Regions from separate parts of the Homo sapiens genome. Here region 1 is linked to region 2. The links are contacts of gene promoters, found by promoter capture Hi-C in human tissues and cell types (Jung and others, 2019). All regions are on one chromosome and are shown on one strand. Each heading gives the region's core, a stretch centred on a gene start or on the middle of the fragment in contact. The rest is flanking DNA. Distances are from core to core; before and after follow the strand shown.

The links. Contacts are between HindIII fragments. The study calls those that stand out against the background at their distance.
Region 1: a contact is called between a fragment that was not itself captured here and the fragment with the promoter of HCAR2 in region 2, in 2 of the 25 tissues and cell types used here (mesenchymal stem cells and thymus).

What each region holds. Positions count from the first base shown.
Region 1 is chr12:122,541,256-122,546,501 of GRCh38, reverse strand. KNTC1 (kinetochore associated 1) reads right to left here. Exons shown (of 64, transcript NM_014708.6): 6 at 4,375-4,452; 7 at 2,868-2,902; 8 at 2,233-2,343; 9 at 233-326. Among named protein-coding and RNA genes, the nearest start is that of KNTC1, 17 kb to the right of the region's middle. The HindIII fragment of the contact is 5,850 bases long and covers 1-5,246 here.
Region 2 is chr12:122,701,863-122,706,590 of GRCh38, reverse strand. It overlaps HCAR2 (hydroxycarboxylic acid receptor 2), which reads left to right and starts at 3,234. Exons shown (of 1, transcript NM_177551.4): 1 at 3,234-4,728. The coding sequence starts at 3,308. The coding sequence ends at 4,399. The HindIII fragment of the contact is 9,565 bases long and covers 1-4,728 here.

The DNA.
Region 1 (5,246 bases), core at 1,536-4,035, 160 kb after region 2:
ATTCCTGCCTCTATTTCTGTTAGGTGATTACTAAAATGTAAAACCTCCCAAAATGAAGAGTAACAACTGTAACATGTCAAGAACTGTTCTGTATGTGAACAACCATCAAGCTATTCTGGCTTGTTTCAAAGAGTGGTAGGGTAAAATGACCCATATGTCAGTCTAAGTACACTGACATAAAAATTAAAACTCACTAATAATTGTCTAAAGTAGTTTCATTAACTTATTTTACCTTTAATAATCTCTGCATCAATAAGGTTCTTAACTGTCATTCCTTTCTTGGAAGAATCTGGTTCCCATTTTGAGAATGCACAATTACCGGTTCCCTGGAAAAATGAACACAGTACTTAAAATGCAAATTTCATTCTTAGACCTGAGCCTTCCTCAAAGTAGAAACATGTAAGTTTTATAGGTTACTAATTTTAAAATATATTTACATATTCTAACTTAACTAGGTTTCATCTTCCAGTTCCTCTCTTGGTTTCTGAAGAGAATGAAAAAAACAGTGTACTATTGGAATTCATGGTTATTACAATTTTTTTTTTTTTTTTAATTTGAGACAGGGTCTCACTCCATTGCCCAGGCTGGAGGGCAGTGATCACAGCTCACTGCAGCCTCAATCTCCTGGGCTCAAGCGATCCTCCCACCTCAGCCTCCCCAGTAGCTGGGACTACAGGTGAGCATCACCACACCCGGCTAATTTACTATTTGTTGTAGAGACAGGGTCTCCCTATGTTGCTGAGACTGGTCTCAACCTCCTGGGTGCAAGCAATCCTCCCACCTCAGCCTCTCAAAGTGTTGGGATTACAGGCATGAGCCACCATGCCAGCCTTCACATAAATATTTAATGAGCGTATTTAGGCAACTAGCACTAAAGACATGCAGTGAACTTTTAAGACCTCTTCCAGGATTATGATTAAAATATAGTCTTTGATAAGTATTTTCATTAAAATACCACAGATATTTGGAAAAAAAATTTATAAATATTAATTTTAAATTCTTTGAAACCCTGGTGAAATGTTAAATTAGATATGCTCAATGTGGAAATATGACTGCTTCTTTTCTCTCTTTTTTGTTTCTTCTCTTTTTAGAGACAGGATCTCACTGTGTTGCCAGGCCGCAGTGAAGTGGGGTGATCACAGGTGTGATCAGAGCTACTGCAGCCTGATACTCCTGGGCTCACGCAATTCTTCTGCCTCAGCTTCCCAAGTAGCTGGGACCATAGGAGCATGCCATGACACGCAGCTGACTACTTCTTAATATATAAATTTGGCAAGTAAAAATGTTGTAAACGTAATTATACTGAGTTTCTGCCTATTCTTTGAATATAACATTAGGTATTTTCCCCCAAAATTTAAAGAAATTATGATCAGGGTTACTGGAAGTGACATACCAATAATGAAATGTTACTTTTTACATGTAACATGAGATATAAGACATTATACAGCAATGTATACATGCCAATGGTTGTGAATGAATTGTGCTTTTCTACGTGCATCCTTGTCCACGTTCCCATTTCACTAATAACAAAACTTGCAAGTAGCCTAGCTAGCCAAGACTAAGAATAACGTAGAATCACTTAGGAGGCAGGCATTACATCAAAGACACTTTACTCTTTAGGACCATTCTCTAACACTAAGGTTCTTAACCTGAATTATTTCAAGATTCAACGGATTTGTGAAGCTGGATGGGCAAAAAATTTACATCTTTATTTTCACTAATCTCCATCTGAAACAGAATTTCTTTCACTTATGAATGTAGGCCACAAAAACCCCAAAAAACAAAAAGCAGTAGAATCAGCAGTCCCTGTGAGTATGTCACCAGTAGTAATTACACTTCCTATTAGAAAAACTATGATGACCATAATTTTGAAGTAGTGGTGTGTAAATATTTATTTCAAGACAGCTGCAATAATGTGCTGTTTTTCCATTAGTGACAAAGTCACAGGTACTGTAACAATGGAATTTTTTGGTTTTGTTTTCTATCGTTTTTGTCTGCTCTCATAATTGAAAAAAATGCTGTACTTTCAGGTAAAGACTAGGGAAAGTAAAGATGCAATATTTTTTCCAAGACAGAAATTTATTTATTGAGTTATTTTTAATTACCTTAATTTTATAATTTCCTTGTTTCGGTTATATGTTACAAATTATTTTGCAATTTAACCAAAACAAAAACATTTTTCTGAGAAAATGCTTTAGGCAACAAAAAACAAAACTTTATAAAAACAATTACCCCAATTATCACAGGAACTTCACTTGCTAAATCTCCAGCCACAAGACTGAGACAACCAAGAGTATGATAATTTTCAGTAGAAATAAAACTGGACTTGATTTGTCCTTGTAACTGCAAAATTAAAAACAACAACGTCATATATATAATACATATTTATGCTCCATAAAATCACTAAAATCAGTTGATATCAATCAGTTATAAATTTTTTTTTTTTTTTTTGGAGACAGAGTTTTGCTCTTGTTGCCCAGGCTAGAGTGCAATGGCGCAATCTCGGCTCACCACAACCTCTGCCTCCCGAGTTCAAGTAATTCCCTGCCTCAGCCTCCTGAGTAGCTGGGAGTACAGGCATGCGCCACCACCCCCCGGCTAATTTTGTATTTTTTAGTAGAGATGGGGTTTCTCCAGTTGGTCAGGCTGGTCTCGAACTCCGGACCTCAGGTGATCCGCCCCCTTGGCCTCCCAAAGTGCTGGGATTACGGGCATAAATGTATTTTTAAATAGAAATGTTATTAAAATGTTATATCATAATAATTTCTAAAATATCAAGAAGTAGACCAATTATATACAGAAACATTCTACTACATTAATATTAAATGTAATTTTTTTAAGAGGACAATATGGATTTATTTTCTTACCTTTTTTGCTGTACTGAAGTCTACATTCTCAATTGCTGCATTAAAAAAGAAAGCAGGCTAAATGTATAGTATTAATCTACAAAATAATACAAGTCACCTGTTTTGTGTCAAGGTGAAATTAAATACAATCTAGTTCAAAGAACACTGGTGAGAATTAAGTTTTGCCCCTGACCAAAATACGCTAACTGTGACATGTTAGATTCAGGGCACCAGCCAGTACCTCTCCATACCTACCCTTACCACCTCTCTTCCTACTAAGGGGATCTTCTCCCTACTCCAACTCTCCTGTGCTTCTCACTGTTTGGAATAGCTCTTACGTTTCTAGCTCCATCATGAAGCTATGGAAAACAAATCTTCAATCTTGTCATATACCCAAGACGTAGCACAGGCCTGGCAAGTCAGTATTTTAAAAATATCACTTAGGCCGGGCGCAGTGGCTCATGCCTACAATCCCAGCACTTTGGGAGGCCAAGACGGGCAAATCACTTGACGTGAGGAGTTCGAGACCAGCCTGGCCAACATGGTGAAACCCCGCCTCTAGTAAAAATACAAAAATTAGCCAGGTGTGGTGGTGCGCACCTGTAATCCCAGTTACTTGGGAGACTGAGGCACAAGAATCACTTGAACCTGGGAAGCGGAGGTTGCAGTGAGCCGATATCATACCACTGTACTCCAGCCTGGGCGACAGAGCAAGACTCCATCTCAAAAATAAATAAATAAATAAAAATAATAAAATAAAACAAAATGTTAAATACCTGTTCCAAATCCATTCCTCAAATAATTTCACTTGGCTTAGAGGGATAAATGGTCCAGACTACTAGCTTAAAACATATTTTACATTATTGTTCTGCACTATATATTTTTTTTTTTGAGACAGAGTTTCGCTCTTGCTGCCCAGGCTGGAGTGCAACAGCGTGATCTCAGCTCACCGCACCTCTGCCTCCTGGGTTCAAATTATTCTCCTGCCTCAGCTTCCCGACTAGCTGGGATTACAGGCGCCTGCCACCCTGTCTGGCTAATTTTGTATTTTTAGTAGAGACAGGGTTTCTTCATGTTGGTCAGGCTGGTCTTGCACTCCCAACCTCAGGTGATCTGCCCGCCTTGGCCTCCCAAAGTGCCAGGATTACAGGCATGAGCCACCACGCCAGCCCTGTTCTGCACTATTAACACTACATAGTCATTTCCATTTCCAGGTTCATCCACCACATTAAAAAGTATTTACTATTGTGCTAGCATATGTCTTGTCTCCCCAACTAAACTGTTGAAGCTTATCTCCCCAAACTAAGCTCCTTGAAGGCCATATCAAAATTACATTTATTCAGATACTGTTCCAGCTCTAACAGAGGAGAATAACTGTATTCTGAATACTTAACAGTATACCCAATTATAACTAAATACAAGTAAGATAAAATAAGCTTAAAGAGAGTACTTAAAATTTTACTATTACATTAATAAAACTAGTAAATATTGCTGCAAATCAATAATAAAAATATAATGTATTACTTACCTTGTTGAATTTTTAAAAGCTGAAGGTTTGTAATACAAAAAAATCCACTGTATGTAAGAAGTAGCATATAATAGGTACCTATTGAAATAAAATCAGAATCAGTTTCTTTTTTTTGAGATGGAGTCTCATTCTGTCGCTAGGCTGGAGTGCAGCAGCGCGATCTCGGCTCCCTGCAACCTCCGCCTCTAGGGTGCAATTCTCCTGCCTCAGCCTCCCAAGTAGCTGGGACTACAGGCGTGCACCACCATGCCCAGCTAATTTTTGTATTTTTAGTAGAGACAGGGTTTCACCATGTTGGCCAGGATGGTCTTGATCTCTTGACCTCATGATCTGCTTGCCTCAGCCTCCCAAAGTGCTGGGATTACAGGCCTGAGCCACTGCTCACGGCTGGGAATCAGTTACTTTAAAAGGCACATGGATATAAAATTTAAACCAGTGTCTGTTTGAACGTGGCTTTTGAAGAAAGAGAGAAAGACAGAAAGAGGCGGGGCGCAGTGGCTCACGCCTGTAATGCCAACACTTTGGGAGGCCAAGGCAGGTAGATCACGAGGTCAGGAGCTCGAGACCAGCCTGACCAACATGGTGAAACCCCGTCTCTACTAAAAATATAAAAATTAGCTGGTTGTGGTGGTGCGTGCCTGTAGTCCCAGCTACTCAGGAGGCTGAGGCAGGAGAATTGCTTGAACCCGGGTAGTGGAGGTTGCAGTGAGCTGAAATTGCGTCATTGCTCTCCAGCCTGGGTGACAGAGTGAGACTCCATCTCAGAAAAAAAAAAAAAGAGAGGGAGAGACAGAGGAAGGACGGAAGGAAGGAAGGAAGGAAGGAAGGAAGGAAGGAAGGCAGGCAGGCAGGCAGGCAGGCAGGCAAGCACA
Region 2 (4,728 bases), core at 1,985-4,484:
CTTGGTCTCCCAAAGTGCTGGGATTATAGGCATGAACCACCACGCCTGTGTTTGTTGTTGTTTTTTTTTTTTTGAGACAGAGTTTCCCTCTTGTTGCCCAGGCTGTAGTGCAATGGTGTGATCTCGGCTCACCGCAACCTCCGCCTCCTGGGTCCCAGTTCAAGCAGTTCTCCTGCCTCAGCCTCCTGAGTATCTGGGATTACAGGCATGTGCCACCACACCCAGCTAAATTTTGTATTTTAGTAGAGATGGGGTTTCACCATGTTGACCAGGCTGGTATCAAACTCCTGACCTCGTGATCCACCCACCTCAGCCTCCAAAAGTGCTGGGATTACAGGCGTGAGCCACCGTGCCCGGCTTTTTTTTTTTTTTTTTTTTTTTTTGGTGGAGTCTCACTCTGTCACCCAGGCTGCAGTGCAGTGGCACAATCTCGGTTCTCTGCAACCTCCAACTCCCTGGTTCAAGCGATTCTCCTGCCTCAGCCTCCCAAGTAGTTGGGATTATAGGCGCCCGCCACCACACCCAGCTAATTTTTGTAAATTTTAGTAGAGACGGGGTTTCACCATATTGGCCAAGATGGTCTGGATCTCCTGACCTTGTGATCCTCCCGTCTCGGCCTCCCAAAGTGTTGGGATTACAGGCGTGAGCCACCATGCCCGGCCATGCTCTGCTCTTATGAGCTGGGTGGCCCTGAATATTTTATCCTCTCTGAGCTTCACTTTCCTCATTTTGAAATCAGAATCAGTAATAATACCTTCCACATGGGCTACAGTCAGGGTGAAACAAGCAACTATAAAAGCACTGAGCTCCTGGCTAACACGGTGAAATCCCGTCTCTACTAAAAATATAAAAAATTAGCTGGGCATGGTGGTGGGTGCCTGTAGTCCCAGCTACTCGGGAGGCTGAGGCAGCATGGCGTGAACCCGGGAGGCGGAGCTTGCAGTGAGGCAAGAGCGAGACTTTGTCTCAAAAAAAAAAAAGCACTGAGTATGGGTTCCAGCACATGGGAAGCTCTCTATAATGTAGGTGCCACCATCATCTTCTTCATCATCGTCTTCATCTCACCTGGATCATCATCAAGTACTTGTAGTTCTATGGGAATCTAATATTAGGTCATCCTGACTCTAGTTTACTGTGAAGAGTCTATAAGCTCCTATTATTGAACCTGCGTTTGCAGCTAAAGAAATAAATTGACATCTTATGGTGGCAGCGATGGTTCACACCTGCAATCCCAGCATTTTGGGATGCCAAGGCGGGAGGATCACTTGAAGTCAGGAGTTCAAGACCAGCCTGGCCAAAATGGTGAAATCCATCTCTACTAAAAATACAAAAATTAGCCAGGCATGGTGGCTTGCACCTGTAGTCTCAGCTACTTGGGAGGCTGAGGCAGGAGAATGGCATGAACCCGGGAGGCAGAGGTTGCAGTGAGCCAAGATCATGCCACTGCACTCCAGCCTGGGCGACAGAGCGAAACTCCATCTCAAAAGAAAAAACAGAAAAAAAAAAAAAAAGGAAGAAATTTACATTTTATAACTCAAAGTAGAAGGAACACAATTTAGAAACCTCCTGCATGGAAGAATTCATAAGACCAAAATATTAAAGGGAGAAAACATTCTATAGGATGACACCCAATCGCACTGACAAGCAGAGAAACAATGTGTGCAATGGTGTCCCGCTACAAGGCGGGGTTCCATGTCCTCTTAGGTCCTGTCACTCTAAGTTTAATTTTACAAAAATGGGGGCTTTGAAAATATCACATACTTAGTGGGGGAGGTTTTGCGTGTGTGGAGACAGAGTGCACAGGACCGTCCGTACTTTCTGCTCCATTTTGCTGTGAATCTAACACTGCCCCAAAAAATAAAGTTCATTAAAAAAAATCACGGCCAGGCGCGGTGGCTCACGCCTGTAATCCCAGCACTTTGGGAGGCCGAGGCAGACGGATCACAAGGTCAGGAGTTTGAGACCAGCCTGGCCAACACAGTGAAACCTCGTCTTTACTAAAAATACAAAAAATTAGCTGGGCGTGGTGGCGCACGCCTGTAGTCCCAGATACTCAGGAGGCTGAGGCAGAAGAATTGCTTGAACCTGGGAGGCGGAGGTTGCAGTGAGCTGAGATTGTTCCACCGTTCTCCAGCCTGGGTGACAGAGTGAGACTCTGTCTCAAAAAAAAAAAATCACATCCTAAGGTCCCAAGGACATAAAACAAGTTAGAGACCTCATCCAGTTTTTTGTTTGTTTCAGGGACCTGCAACCAACTTTCTTACTGACCAGTTTCCTGGGCTGTCTAGAACAGACAGCTTATGGGGTACTAACCCCATGCTCTATCCTAAGGTACCCCTCTTCATGCAGAGCGACACAGAAAAACAAATTTGTAGCACAAAGTACACCCGATTTGCTACAGCTTACGACTAGCCTCATGAATCCTTTTTCTCATTAATTCAAAGTTTGCAAAAAAAAGAAATCACATACTTAAAAATAAATCACTTGAGCACAGAAGCATATCAAAATCTAATATAAACAAACAAAAAACCCAACTTATGTTAACATGCCACTGAAACTGGGCTCAAGTTTTCAAATGTCTTATGAAATATTACACTCTCCAGCAGGCTATTTTTTTTTTCCTAACTGGAGATGAATGGCAGAGTTCTGATATGGAAAAGCACTCCATGTTTGTACAGAAAGGTAGCATAGGAAAAGTGGTCAAATTCAACCAGTCTGTCCTCATCAAACAGGCAACTACTGTCTTCTCAGCATTTCCAAAAGAAATCATATGTCTGCTACTGTTTATGTCATATGCCTGTTAATTTTTCATGCTAATTCTTAGTGTTTCTGGAAAACCTCACTGTTTGGCACCAAAAATTGTTATTGCTATTGTTGTTGTTTTGTTAATTATGTCAGCCAAGCAGATGACGGTGAATTAATTCTGCAACGTTGAGTACTCAGTTGGCATACAAGCACCCAGCCTTCCAAAGGGATGTCCTTCATGTTTCACTGATTTTCGAATGACAGTCGGCTTGCCTAAACTTATCCTTTACATTTAAGACATTTTGTGGGTTCCCGTCTGCCCAGGGGATTCTTATTACTTGTTTATGCAAACAGCAGGTTGCATAAGAGCCTTGCTGGCTTTTTTTTTTTTTTTTTTTTTTAGAGATTTCGTAGTTTCCTGGTAACCATTCAGTCATCTATTTCAACACCCTGACATGACATAAAGGCAGGCGTGGAACCACACGTTCACCACACAGACACACACCTCCTTGCTGGAGCATTCACTAGGCGAGGCGCTCCATCGGACTCACTAGCCGCACTCATGAATCGGCACCATCTGCAGGATCACTTTCTGGAAATAGACAAGAAGAACTGCTGTGTGTTCCGAGATGACTTCATTGTCAAGGTGTTGCCGCCGGTGTTGGGGCTGGAGTTTATCTTCGGGCTTCTGGGCAATGGCCTTGCCCTGTGGATTTTCTGTTTCCACCTCAAGTCCTGGAAATCCAGCCGGATTTTCCTGTTCAACCTGGCAGTGGCTGACTTTCTACTGATCATCTGCCTGCCCTTCCTGATGGACAACTATGTGAGGCGTTGGGACTGGAAGTTTGGGGACATCCCTTGCCGGCTGATGCTCTTCATGTTGGCTATGAACCGCCAGGGCAGCATCATCTTCCTCACGGTGGTGGCGGTAGACAGGTATTTCCGGGTGGTCCATCCCCACCACGCCCTGAACAAGATCTCCAATCGGACAGCAGCCATCATCTCTTGCCTTCTGTGGGGCATCACTATTGGCCTGACAGTCCACCTCCTGAAGAAGAAGATGCCGATCCAGAATGGCGGTGCAAATTTGTGCAGCAGCTTCAGCATCTGCCATACCTTCCAGTGGCACGAAGCCATGTTCCTCCTGGAGTTCTTCCTGCCCCTGGGCATCATCCTGTTCTGCTCAGCCAGAATTATCTGGAGCCTGCGGCAGAGACAAATGGACCGGCATGCCAAGATCAAGAGAGCCATCACCTTCATCATGGTGGTGGCCATCGTCTTTGTCATCTGCTTCCTTCCCAGCGTGGTTGTGCGGATCCGCATCTTCTGGCTCCTGCACACTTCGGGCACGCAGAATTGTGAAGTGTACCGCTCGGTGGACCTGGCGTTCTTTATCACTCTCAGCTTCACCTACATGAACAGCATGCTGGACCCCGTGGTGTACTACTTCTCCAGCCCATCCTTTCCCAACTTCTTCTCCACTTTGATCAACCGCTGCCTCCAGAGGAAGATGACAGGTGAGCCAGATAATAACCGCAGCACGAGCGTCGAGCTCACAGGGGACCCCAACAAAACCAGAGGCGCTCCAGAGGCGTTAATGGCCAACTCCGGTGAGCCATGGAGCCCCTCTTATCTGGGCCCAACCTCTCCTTAAATAACCATGCCAAGAAGGGACATTGTCACCAAGAACCAGGATCTCTGGAGAAACAGTTGGGCTGTTGCATCGAGTAATGTCACTGGACTCGGCCTAAGGTTTCCTGGAACTTCCAGATTCAGAGAATGCGATTTAGGGAAACGGTGGCAGATGAGTGGGAGACTGGTTGCAAGGTGTGACCGCAGGAATCCTGGAGGAATAGAGAGTAAAGCTTCTAGGCATCTGAAACTTTTGCTTCATCTCTGACGCTCGCAGGACTGAAGATGGGCAAATTGTAGGCATTTCTGCTGAGCAGAGTTGGAGCCAGAGATCTACTTGTGACTTGTTGG